4 separate regions of the Homo sapiens genome follow, and all the other regions are linked to region 3. Evidence: promoter capture Hi-C in 16 types of primary human blood cells and fetal thymus (Javierre and others, 2016). All regions are on one chromosome and are shown on one strand. The core of a region is centred on a gene start or on the middle of the fragment in contact, and the rest is flanking DNA. Distances in the headings are between cores, read along the strand shown. Region 1 has its middle 99 kb from the start of TMEM17. Region 2 overlaps USP34 (ubiquitin specific peptidase 34). Region 3 holds the start of FAM161A (FAM161 centrosomal protein A). Region 4 overlaps USP34 (ubiquitin specific peptidase 34).

Region 1 (2,700 bases), core at 108-2,607, 550 kb after region 3:
TACCTATCAGATTGGCAAATATTAAAAACTTGGATAATATCAAGTACTGCCAAAGGTGAAGGAAAACAGAAACCCTCTGGGAATGTCATCCAGTATAACCTTTCTGGGAAGAAGTTTAGAAATAGTAAGAGAAACTAAATACAGACAGATCTTCCCACCCAGCAGTTCCATCCACTCCTAGATACTGAGCCCAGAGAAACTCTTACAAAACATGTAAGAGGATGTCCATTGCAGAATTGTTTGTAATAGGGACGATTTGAAAATACCTAGAAATTTACTAATAGGAAAATAGATAAAATGTGTTATATGCAAATGATGATAATAATTCAGCAGATAAAAGGAATGCTCTGGTCACATCCACTTGGATCAATCTCAAAAACATAACTTTGACTGGAAAAGGGTGAGAAGCAGAATGAGATGTATACCAAAGACCACTTACACATATTTTTATTTATTTTATTTATTTTATTTTATTTTTTTTTGAGACGGAGTCTCGCTCTGTCACCCAGGCTGGAGTGCAGTGGTGCGATCTTGGCTCACTGCAACCTCTGCCTCCCAGGTTCAAGCGATTCTCCTGCCTCAGCCTTCCGAGTAGCTGGGATTACAGACGTGTGTCACCACGCCTGGCTAATTTTTTGTATTTTTAGTAGGGACGGGGTTTCACCATTTTAGCCAGGATGGTCTCGATCTCCTGACCTCGTGATCTGCCCGCTTTGGCCTCCCAAAGTGCTGGGATTACAGGCATGAGCCACGGTGCCCGGCCCACATATTTTAAAAATATGCGCAAAATAACACCAATCTCAGACCTGCGTGCAAATCAAACTACAGATTGGGAGGGAAGACACACAAAAATCACGGGAATGGGTCCTGTGGTAAGAGGAGAAAAACGAGATTGGGGATGGGCTGAAGGGGGCCAAAAAATAAGGTTAACTAAAATACAATTGAGTCCAGCGCATACCAACAAAGACGCCATGCCTTGAACCAAGAAGTATGGCTAATTCATTTTGGGCACATGAAGTCTTTGCAAGCAGAAAAAAACTAAACCAAAACAATACATCAGTTAATGTTTAACAGAAGTGGAAACAGAACTCAAGGGAGTGGCTGTGGCTACCCAGAGGTCTAATATGCACCCAGAGGTGGCAGAGGTTGGTCACTGTGAGGTTTGGATAGTGAGGGCAGAGGGTGGCCTCAGGCAACTCCAGGGGAAATCAGGTGACCCGGAACCTTCAGTCCCTGGTGATTACTTCTAAAAGACTGATCTCATTCTGGGGTGACCCCATGTCATGGCCTTGAGTCACTTTACTCACAGAAATTCGGTCTTCCTGAGGCACTGCTGACTGCTTTCAGGGAACTTGATGGTCACAAGATTTTCCCACAAAGATTGTTACCATGGGGTGCTTTCCATCTGTTATTAACCTCAGGTTTCTCCAGCAAAGTCAGCATATCCTGGGAACACAGACTCCTCCCGTCCACTTTTGTTGCCTGCTTTCAGTAACCAAAAGCTGTTTCTCAAACGGCATGTTATAGAACTCAGACTAGGACTGTGCAGCTTATTTTTCACATGGCGGGGACGGGGGAAGTGGTTCTAGCTAACAGCTCTGGTAATGCTTGAAGTCCCACTCTTGGGGAATGAAGGGGAGAAAGATAGATGATGAGTTATTTTCTGTCTCCTGAATCCATCCTTCTCTTCCTTCCTCTTCTCCCTCCTTTCCTTCTCAAACATATATTTACTGCTGAGTACACAACAGGCACTGTGCTAGGCACCATGTGATTTGAGTCTGACATTATCACCTGCCCTCAAGGAGGTTAAAATCTAGTGGGGAGGAAGCAATGATATCAAGCATGATGGAAGCGTAAGGATGCTTTGAGACACGGAGGCAGACAGCTGCATCTGATGGGAAGGTGTCAGAGACAGCTTGGAGGTGGAGCACCTTGAGCTGAGTCTGGAGGAACATAATGGAGTCAAGAAGAATGGGAGGAACCGGGAGAGGTATTCCTGCTGGAGAGGACAGCGTGGGCACTGGCTGGGAGCATGAAACAGCGTGAATCACTGGGAGGCTGACTGTAGTTCATCATGTCTAGGTTTGGTGCTCAGGACTGAACTCAGGCCCTATCTTCTCCCTGAAGCCTGCAGCAGGTGCCCCACCCCATCAAGTTCCAGCCCCCACCGCCCCCCAGCTCCACCTACTGACAGTCGCTTGTTTCCCTTCTGTTCTTTCTCTTAGGAATTTTTTTGGTGTGAAGTCTTCCTTTCCCAGTCTTAGAGAGGGTCCCAAGAGGCCAATGCTTCTCCCACCCAGTGCTCAGAGCTCTTATTCCACCATGGGGATGTCTTGCCCGATTCTGAGTGGGTACAGTGTTCACCGAGGAGGCAGGCTGAGGCAGTTGGTAGCAGCACTGAATCCCACCCCAGCCCATTGGGTTTTCAGTCTGAGGGGCTTCTCCAGTGTGTGCCTGAGCCTGGCTGACACCTGGGCCAGTACGCAGGTGAACATTCTTCTGGGAGGGGAACTGAAAGCCTGTTGTAGCCAGTTTCTCAGTGATCCTGATCTCCTGGTTTTCAGGCCCTTGAATGGTCTCCTGCCACATTGCATCAGGGTCGGTCTGCATGGCCCACAAGTACAGCAGAAGTGATGGCATATGCCTTCGAGGCTAGCTTAAGAAAGACACGGTGATTAGCCTGCATTAGTTTCTGCCTTG
Region 2 (2,700 bases), core at 43-2,542, 550 kb before region 3:
CTCGTGTCCAGATGAAATCATCCTGACAGGTCCCATGAGGCCTCCTTAAAAACAGCAAAACATGGAAATGAATTTGTTTTTAAGAATTAACTTACTTGCTGATAAGAATATGTAGTTGTAGCAATTAAACACACTGTATGTTAAGTTTAAATGTAATCTAAGGTAAAGACAGAAAACTCAGTAGATTGAGGATAGTTATTTCTAGAATGCATTAAGTCCTTTTAGCTGCCTACACCTTCAACTTCATTTCCCACCATCTTCCCTATCTCACACTATGTTCAGCCAACTGGCCTCCTTGCCCTTTCTTGAAAATAACAAGTATATTACCAACTCAAGGACTAAGATTTCTCTCCAGGAATTCAAGATACTTATTTTCTCACCTCTTTCAAGTCTCTCATCCAATGGGAGCTTTTTCCTTACCGCCCAATCTAAAAGCTTCACTTCACCATTAACCCTTTACTCTCCTTTATCTTTCTTTAAAGCACTTGTTAACACCTCATATTTGTTATCTGGGAAGGGATGGGAGGGTGAGGAGAAAAAAGAGAGGGAAGGAAAGGAAAAAGGAAAGAAAGAAAGAAAGAAAAAAAGGAAAGGGAAAAGGAAAGGAAGACTGACAAATTCCCAGTTCCACAAGGGCAGAGGTGTTTTATTCACACATGCATGCCAGGCACTAAAATGGAGAAGACATTCAAATTAAGTATTGTATAATGTACAACTTTTTCGGGAAAAAAAATGATTAGAGCAGGAAAATTAAGCAAAATTAAATGTCTGATGAATAATTTAAACTTTAAAAATATTGCTAAACTTCATTCAATATAGAAAAACTCCACTGAACAGACACTAAACAATTACTTTCAAGAAAAATGAGTGGGGTAAGGCTATCGCTTTTCATAATGACACATAACATTTTAAAATTACCTTTCCCTTCACATAATAAAAAAGGTTTGTGGAAAAATATTTCAAACACAGAAGGAATATGTTTTTCTTCCAAGACGAGTCATATTGGCAATTTGCCTTAAGCACAATTTTTTTATAAGTAAATTGCTAATCATTGTGTAGCTAAATCTATGATTCTTTCCCTTTCTCATTATTTCTAGCCCTCAATCTTGGCCCTCAAAATGGTTTGACAAACGTTCAATCCTATTTTCTTCTAAATTTTCCTACCATTGTTAACACAGATACAACATTTTAAACATATCCTAAATATTAGAAAAAGGGGTTTTTCTTTCCCCAAACTGAACAAGTCATATATGACTAATTTTCAGTATCCATTCTATATCATTTAACTAACAATTCCCATACCAAAATCAAATTATGGTTTAATGTTTATACAGCTAGTACGGAAGTTCAACTTTCTATTATCCTTTTGAATTTTTCTCCCAGGACTTTTTTGTTTTTTCTTTTTTCATAAAGTGCCAATTTACTGACCTCCCAGAACTTATAATATTGCTTAGTTTATTCATACAGATAACTTCACAGTAATTTCATCAAATTTTAAACAAAAATTACATTGGAATTACTGATAGAACATTTTAAAAAATAAATTTACCTAACATCTTTACAATATTCTGTACAGAGACATGCTATTTCAATTTACTCAGATGTTCGCTTATCTCCAAAAGTTTTATTCTCACATTTTACAAAGACCTCATATTATTGTAAGTTTTTTTTTTTGAGACGGAGTGTCACTCTGTCACCCAGGCTGGAGTGCAGTGGCTCAATCTCAGCTCACTGCAACCTCCGCCTCCTGGGTTCAAGCAATTCTCCAGTCTCGGCCTCCTGAATAGCTGGGACTACAGGCGTGCACCATCACACTTAACTAATTTTTGTATTTTTAGTAGAGACGGGTTTCTCCATGTTGGCCAGGCTGGTCTTGAACTCTTGACCTCCGGTGATCCGCCTGCCTCGGCCCCCCAAAGTGCTGGGATTACAGCCATGAGCCACCACGGCCCAGCCAGAATATCGTAACATCTTAAAATTGCTATTATATACTTGATTTAGTGTCCTATTCATCATGTTGCTCACAAATTATAACTGAATAATCTAATAGCGATACCATTTTATAGTGTATTTTACTTTATTCAAATCATTTTGTATTATACAAAACCAGAAGAAAAGTAAATGCTTATGAAGCAGCGTATTCATTAGGAAAAGCTTTGGCTACTGGATGGACAGAAATTCTGTATTAAACTTTTTTTTTTTTTGAGACAGAGTCTCGCTCTGTCGCCCACGCTGGAGTGCAGTGGCACAATCTCAGCTCACTGCAAGCTCCGCCTCCTGGGTTCACGCCATTCTCCTGCCTCAGCCTCCCAAGTAGCTGGGACTACAGGCGCCTGCCACCACGCCTGGCTCATTTTTTGTATTTTTAGTAGAGATGGGGTTTCACCATGTTAGCCAGGATGGTGTTATCTCCTGACCTCGTGATCTGCCCGCCTCGGCCTCCCAAAGTGCTGGGATTACAGTGTGAGCCATTAATACTTTGGTAGTTTTTTTGTTTTGTTTTGTTTTGAGGAGTCTCGCTCTGTCGCCCAGGCTGGAGTGCAATGGCATGATCTCGGCTCACTAACACCTCCACCTCCTGGGCTTAAGCGATTCTCATGCCTCAGCCTTCCAAGTAGCTGGGATTACGGGTGCACACCACCAGGCCCAGCTAATTTTTGTATTTTTAGTAGAGACAGGGTTTCGTCATGTTGGCCAGGC
Region 3 (2,700 bases), core at 12-2,511:
AAAGAGATCAGAATTCCAAAATATCCAGTGATTTCAGTTAGTCCTCAATCATAAGTTTGGTGTCTGAGAAGCTTTGGACACATGGTATTAGGAAATTTTTTCTATCTGCAGATTGCTAGTTTAAATTCAAGATTCCCATCTTTTTTTTTTTTTTTTTTTTTTGAGACTGGGTCTGAGATCTCAGCTCACTGCAACCCTCACCTCCCAAGTTCAAGCGATTCTCCTGCCTCAGCCTTCCGAGTAACTAGGATTACAGGGGCGCACCACCACGCCCGGCTAAATTTTGTATTTTTAGTACAGACGGGGTTTCACCATGTTGGTCAGGCTGGTCTCGAACTCCTGACCTCGTAACCCGCCCACCTCGGCCTCCCAAAGTGCTGGGATTATAGGCACGAGCCACCGCGCCCGGCCAAGATTCCCATCTTTTAAGTGAATTGAGCAGATGGCAGACCCTGCCCTCTACCTGCTGGACTGGTGTCCACAACAGATTTAACAATGAAAACTGATCAGTGAAAAGGCCGTCTCGCTGTACCCTAAAGAGCTGTTTAGGAAACACTGAAACCTCAGTGATTTGCTTATCTGTATCCGTGTCTGATTTAGCCAGTGAACACGTGATGGTTTTAAACACACATCTTTAGAGCACTATGTTGAGATCCGCTTATAACCAAGATCTTAAGGTAATAACGAAACACACCTGACAGAACAGTTTTCCTCAAATTACTATATATAGCCAGATATATCTCTATATATCCATTCCCGAGATGCTGGAGAGTAGAGAGTAAAATTCTATACTTTGCACTTGCCAGAAGCAGAGTAACATAAATGTTGTCTAGGAAGCTTTTACAACAGACTGGTGAAAATTAAAACACTTTTCAACGCCTCGATTTAGAGTAATTTTCGTGAGCGTAGAGAAGGGGCTGGGCCAGGACCACCAAGTAGGGACTATGTGCACAGGGACCCGCGTTTACCAGCCTGCCCTCAGCTGGGCGGGGAACCGGACAGCCCTCAGCCTGCACCCAGCCCATGCGAGGTCCCAGCCCAAGTCCCGCCCCAGTATTACCGATGCCCCAGCGGGCTGAGCCACTTTCTCCTCCTCTTCGTCCTCCAAGATCGCCTCCGCTGCCGCCAGGGCCTTTAAGGGGTCTTCGCGTTCGTACTGGGCGACCCGCGCTCCAGTGATGGGATTTACCGGGGTCTGGAGACTGGAGGCCACCAGCTTCGCCACTCGGTGGGAGGTGGCCATCGCCCCGCCTCCGAGGCCTGAGCGCCTGCGCTGGCCCGGGACGGGAAAGCTGGTGCGGCCCCTGGCAACCCGGGGGCGCCTAGCTAGGGAGCCGGTTGCTATGGGCGCCGTAACTGGGGACGCTACAGGAGCCGCCAGGGACCAAAAGTCACGCAAAATCCACTCAGGCTGCCAGAGACCCGAGTCGGGTGCTTACTGGATCATGGCAGTCAGTACCGAGTCTGTTGGCTGGTTCCGAAGGTTGGCAGGCTGAACAGGGCACTTATTCCACTCCTTTGCGTCTAACCGCCTGAACGCAGACTTCTCACATTATACAATGAAACAACTGCTTTTGTGAAGAAAAGAACGCTTTTTTATTAACTGCAATAACATGTTAGAAGGAGACAGTTGATGGAGGAGACGGCGGCGGCGGAGGAAAGCAGGGCGTGTTACTGGGTGGCGGTCTCAGAAGAGTGACAAGGTTGGCGTCCCGCTACCTAACATGTCTCCCGCGGGGGCCAGAGTGGGAAGGAGGGCGGTACATTCTACTCTGATTGACTTGAGGGCTAGCAGGAATCCACCAATCAGAAGGAGGCTCCCAGTTGTCCCTCTCGCTTTTTTCTTGACATGACCAATAAAAGCCCAGAGTTGGGTGGCGCCTGACCCTCCCACTAATGAGTGATAGTGCAGGTATTGTAAACCTGGCGTTTGCTTTGGGTTCTTCAGCTTGAGAGTGACAGGATTGAACGGCACAAGTGCCCAAGAGTCACCACAGACACATCCATCTCCCTCATCCGTATCTTCTCTTCCCACTCGGGATTTGGACGCATCAAATGGCGCCTTCCCTCTGCACCACGTGGCAGTAAGAGAAGCCAAACCTCAAAATAGCGGACGTGGTGCAGTCTCAGACATCTGCTCCCTGAGCCCCTGCTTACTGAGGCCGAGGCTGCCGCCCCCTATCTACTCCCTATCTACCCCCTCTCTATCCTTTGCCCTCCTCCTGCTCCCCAGCCCTACGACCGGCCCCCTCCGGTCAGTATTTTCCTCGTTATGCGCTGCACATCGTCGAGAACCCGTCTCTAAGGTCTGAGCCCTTACCAAACCTTTGTTCTCCTGTCTGGGTGTGAGCACCTACAAAGTCTCCTACGTCCCCACTTCCTTCAGGCTGCTCTTGGTTTTAGCTGAACAGTTGCTTCCCATGCTGGAACAGATGCTGACTGGGTTCTAAGCAGAAGCCAGAGCCAGAACCATGAGATATGCACCGCCAGGTGTGGCCAAGTTTCCAGGGGAGCAATTTCCAGTCAGACACGGCAGCCAGTTTTGTGGCTACAAAACTGCCTCAGCCTCCGGAGTAGCTGGGATTACAGGCGCACTCCCGGGAGGCGGAGGTTGCAGTGAGCCGGGATGGCGCCACTGCACTCCAGCCTGGGCAATAAAGCAAGACTCCGTCTCACCACCACCACCACCAACAAAAGTAT
Region 4 (2,700 bases), core at 155-2,654, 520 kb before region 3:
CAGTTTGAATGTAGTATACCAAATTATCAAAGAAAAGCTTCATCATGTTCAGTTCTTTTTCTGCCCACCTGGCCCAAATAAAAGAAAAAATAATTTTAAAGTGGGCAGGGTAAGAGAATAAATCTATGCTATGACAGTAAATATGCAAATCTAAAAAAAATCTTCAAATGTAAAATTTTAGTTACGAAAAATATACACGTTTTATTTATATTTGAATGGTGAAAAGATATAAAGCAATGTTCCTTCATTTTTATGAATTTAAAGTACCTTTGTAAGTTTTTAATCTCAAAATGCCTGTGAAAGTACTATTATCAATGACTAATTTGAGTTAATATTAAAAGTAATATGATACCCTTTCATATAAGAATATACTATGTGCTTTGGTCATTACTTAGCACAATATCTGGCATACAGAAGGCATACAATAAACTTACTGCATATATCTTTTGTCATTAATTTGCTTATATTTTTGAACAAAATTTTTTTTAAAAAAATCAAAGAAATACCCAGCACTGAGTTCCAAAATAATGTAGAAATACTACAATGAAAACACAAATAGTGGCATATACATTCAGAGATCCCAGGGTCCATAACTTCCATAATTAACATAATGTATTTCATATAACACCTATTAGCAATTTATCTGCTAAAATGTACAGATGTAGAAGTATTAAAATTCTCTAAGTTCCATGTAATTTACATCGTGTTTCTGTTATAGCCATATTTTAAACAGAAGTTACTTTCACCTTGCTATTCACTAAATAAAGGTCAAGTGGTAGAAAGAAAAAGACTTTGGGTTTGAAGGCAGCTCCAATACACTTGCTACAACACAGCTTCAGGCAAGTAAGCTGTCTTGTGGAAGTCTGTTTGCTTGAAGGTTTATTAGAAGAATCAAGGGTAAGTTTCCAATTTTAAACTATGGGCCATTAGAACGAGTTTAAGAGATAATATGTACTAAATATTAAGTGCTGCTATACATACTAGACTCACAATAAATGACAGCTTTTGTTGTTACTGATGTCAAATAACCACAGGAGTTCTTTTAAGTGATGTAGTTTATGAGATTTAGGATACCAATCTCTTGTGGTAATGGAAACCCTGTGAATTTTCCTTAATTAAGCTTATTTACATTTAATTTAAGGAACAAGCTAAAAGAGTTTCAACTCAATATATTTAGGTTCGGGTACTTGATTAAGTAACTGAATATTCAGAGACTGCCCCTTCTATACAAGAAAGTTACTCCTTAATATGAACCACCTCCACTGACTATAATGACACCTGCTCGCCCGTGTTAGCACCAAATGACTGCCTTTACTGCATTAGAATTTTGAAATTCAGCCACTTAAAAATTATAGAAAGAGGCAATGAAAAATGGCTCACACTATTCTTGTTCTTCAGTGATGTTAAATGCTTTCCCTTACCCCTCCTTTTGGAAGCTGAAGGACCTTCCTTGCAAAAACAGAACCTTCACTGGATTCTTACTGTAGTATTAACCAAAGAAAGAGACTAAGATACTTCTAAATAATAATAAAGGTCCAGATTAAACATATTCCCTTTAAAAGAACAATTAGAAGCAAGGTATATGACTCAGAAGAATTAACTTCATCTAATCTGGAATTATAGTGCAGACTTCCAAGAACTATAAAAGTGATACTCCACTGTGAAAGCAAGCAAGTGTTCTTACCACCTAAGCTTAGAATTGAGAACTTGATCTCACAAATGAATCCTTCAACAAGTCGAATTTTCCCTAAAATTCAAATGTCTCCGAAATCTCTCCAAAAGCTTATTTAGAATAAAGCATACAACACATCTTCTTAATGTATTGTTTGTGGTAGACAACTTTCTCTAGACTTATTACCAAAACATGGGGTCGATTTCACATAAAAGTTCTACCTCTGGAAGAATTATTGTAACATTCATTAATCATAAGTTCTCCATAAATGGAGTAACTAGTTGAATATCCCTTATCCAAAATGCTGGAGACCAGAAGTGTTTCAAATTTTTTCAGATTCCGTAATATTCGCAGAATGCATAGCAGTTGAACATAACTAATCCAAAAATCCAAATTCCAAAATGCTCCAATGAATATTTCCTTTGAGTGTCCTACTGATGCTCCAAAAATGTTGGATTATGGAGCATTTCAGATTTTAGATTTTTCAGATTAGGCATACTCAACCTGTAATAAGGTAGTGTCAAGATTACCCCAAACATGACATTAGGTCTACAGCCAATTCCTAGAAATGGGAAAAATTAAAGGCATGCCAGAGTTTACTTTAGTGTGGCTCTTCTTCAAAAGTACTCTGCTGTAGCTGCATACGCTAAAAATCTCCCTAAAATTAGAGTATTAATTGCTAAAGTACTGTTCTCAAACTCCAAAGAAAACAAAACACAGATTTTCCTACTGATCAGGATATAATCTCTACAGGGGTAAGTGGCAGAAAAATCTAAGAAAACAAACCACATGAAACTCAAATTTTCCTGGTACAGAGTAAAAGCTTGTAGGTTAGTCAAAACCTTTAGATAACTATAATTAGAAAAAAATCTTTAAAATAAATACTTTTTTCTTTTATTTACTTACATTGTTATCCAGTGTGTATCGTAACTGCTCCCAAACTGCTGAAAAGTACCAAATAGTTTTGGAAGAAGACGAAGTGAAATTACTACTGATCTGAAACAGCAGAAACATTCACAAAATAATTT

What was found. The method cuts DNA at HindIII sites, captures the fragments that hold promoters and counts their contacts. A CHiCAGO score of 5 or more calls a contact.
Region 1: a contact is called between a fragment that was not itself captured here and the fragment with the promoter of FAM161A in region 3, in 3 of 17 cell types (neutrophils, non-activated CD4 T cells and total CD8 T cells). The highest score is 6.3, in neutrophils.
Region 2: a fragment that was not itself captured here is called in contact with the fragment with the promoter of FAM161A in region 3 in 1 of 17 cell types (total CD8 T cells); the score reaches 5.6 in total CD8 T cells.
Region 4: a fragment that was not itself captured here is called in contact with the fragment with the promoter of FAM161A in region 3 in 1 of 17 cell types (naive CD4 T cells); the score reaches 5.9 in naive CD4 T cells.

What each region holds. Positions count from the first base shown.
Region 1 is chr2:62,405,566-62,408,265 of GRCh38, forward strand. No RefSeq gene overlaps it. Among named protein-coding and RNA genes, the nearest start is that of TMEM17, 99 kb to the right of the region's middle. RefSeq lists an enhancer at 2,543-2,592. The HindIII fragment of the contact is 8,957 bases long and covers 1-2,700 here.
Region 2 is chr2:61,301,411-61,304,110 of GRCh38, forward strand. USP34 (ubiquitin specific peptidase 34) reads right to left here. Exons shown (of 80, transcript NM_014709.4): 28 at 1-44. Among named protein-coding and RNA genes, the nearest start is that of SNORA70B, 110 kb to the right of the region's middle. The HindIII fragment of the contact is 1,719 bases long and covers 434-2,152 here.
Region 3 is chr2:61,852,799-61,855,498 of GRCh38, forward strand. FAM161A (FAM161 centrosomal protein A) reads right to left here and starts at 1,262. Exons shown (of 7, transcript NM_001201543.2): 1 at 1,061-1,262. The coding sequence starts at 1,243. RefSeq lists enhancers at 746-875, 1,036-1,195, 1,436-1,665, 2,406-2,455. The HindIII fragment of the contact is 5,666 bases long and covers 836-2,700 here.
Region 4 is chr2:61,331,304-61,334,003 of GRCh38, forward strand. It overlaps USP34 (ubiquitin specific peptidase 34), which reads right to left. Exons shown (of 80, transcript NM_014709.4): 19 at 2,579-2,668; 20 at 1-68. Among named protein-coding and RNA genes, the nearest start is that of SNORA70B, 85 kb to the right of the region's middle. The HindIII fragment of the contact is 572 bases long and covers 1,119-1,690 here.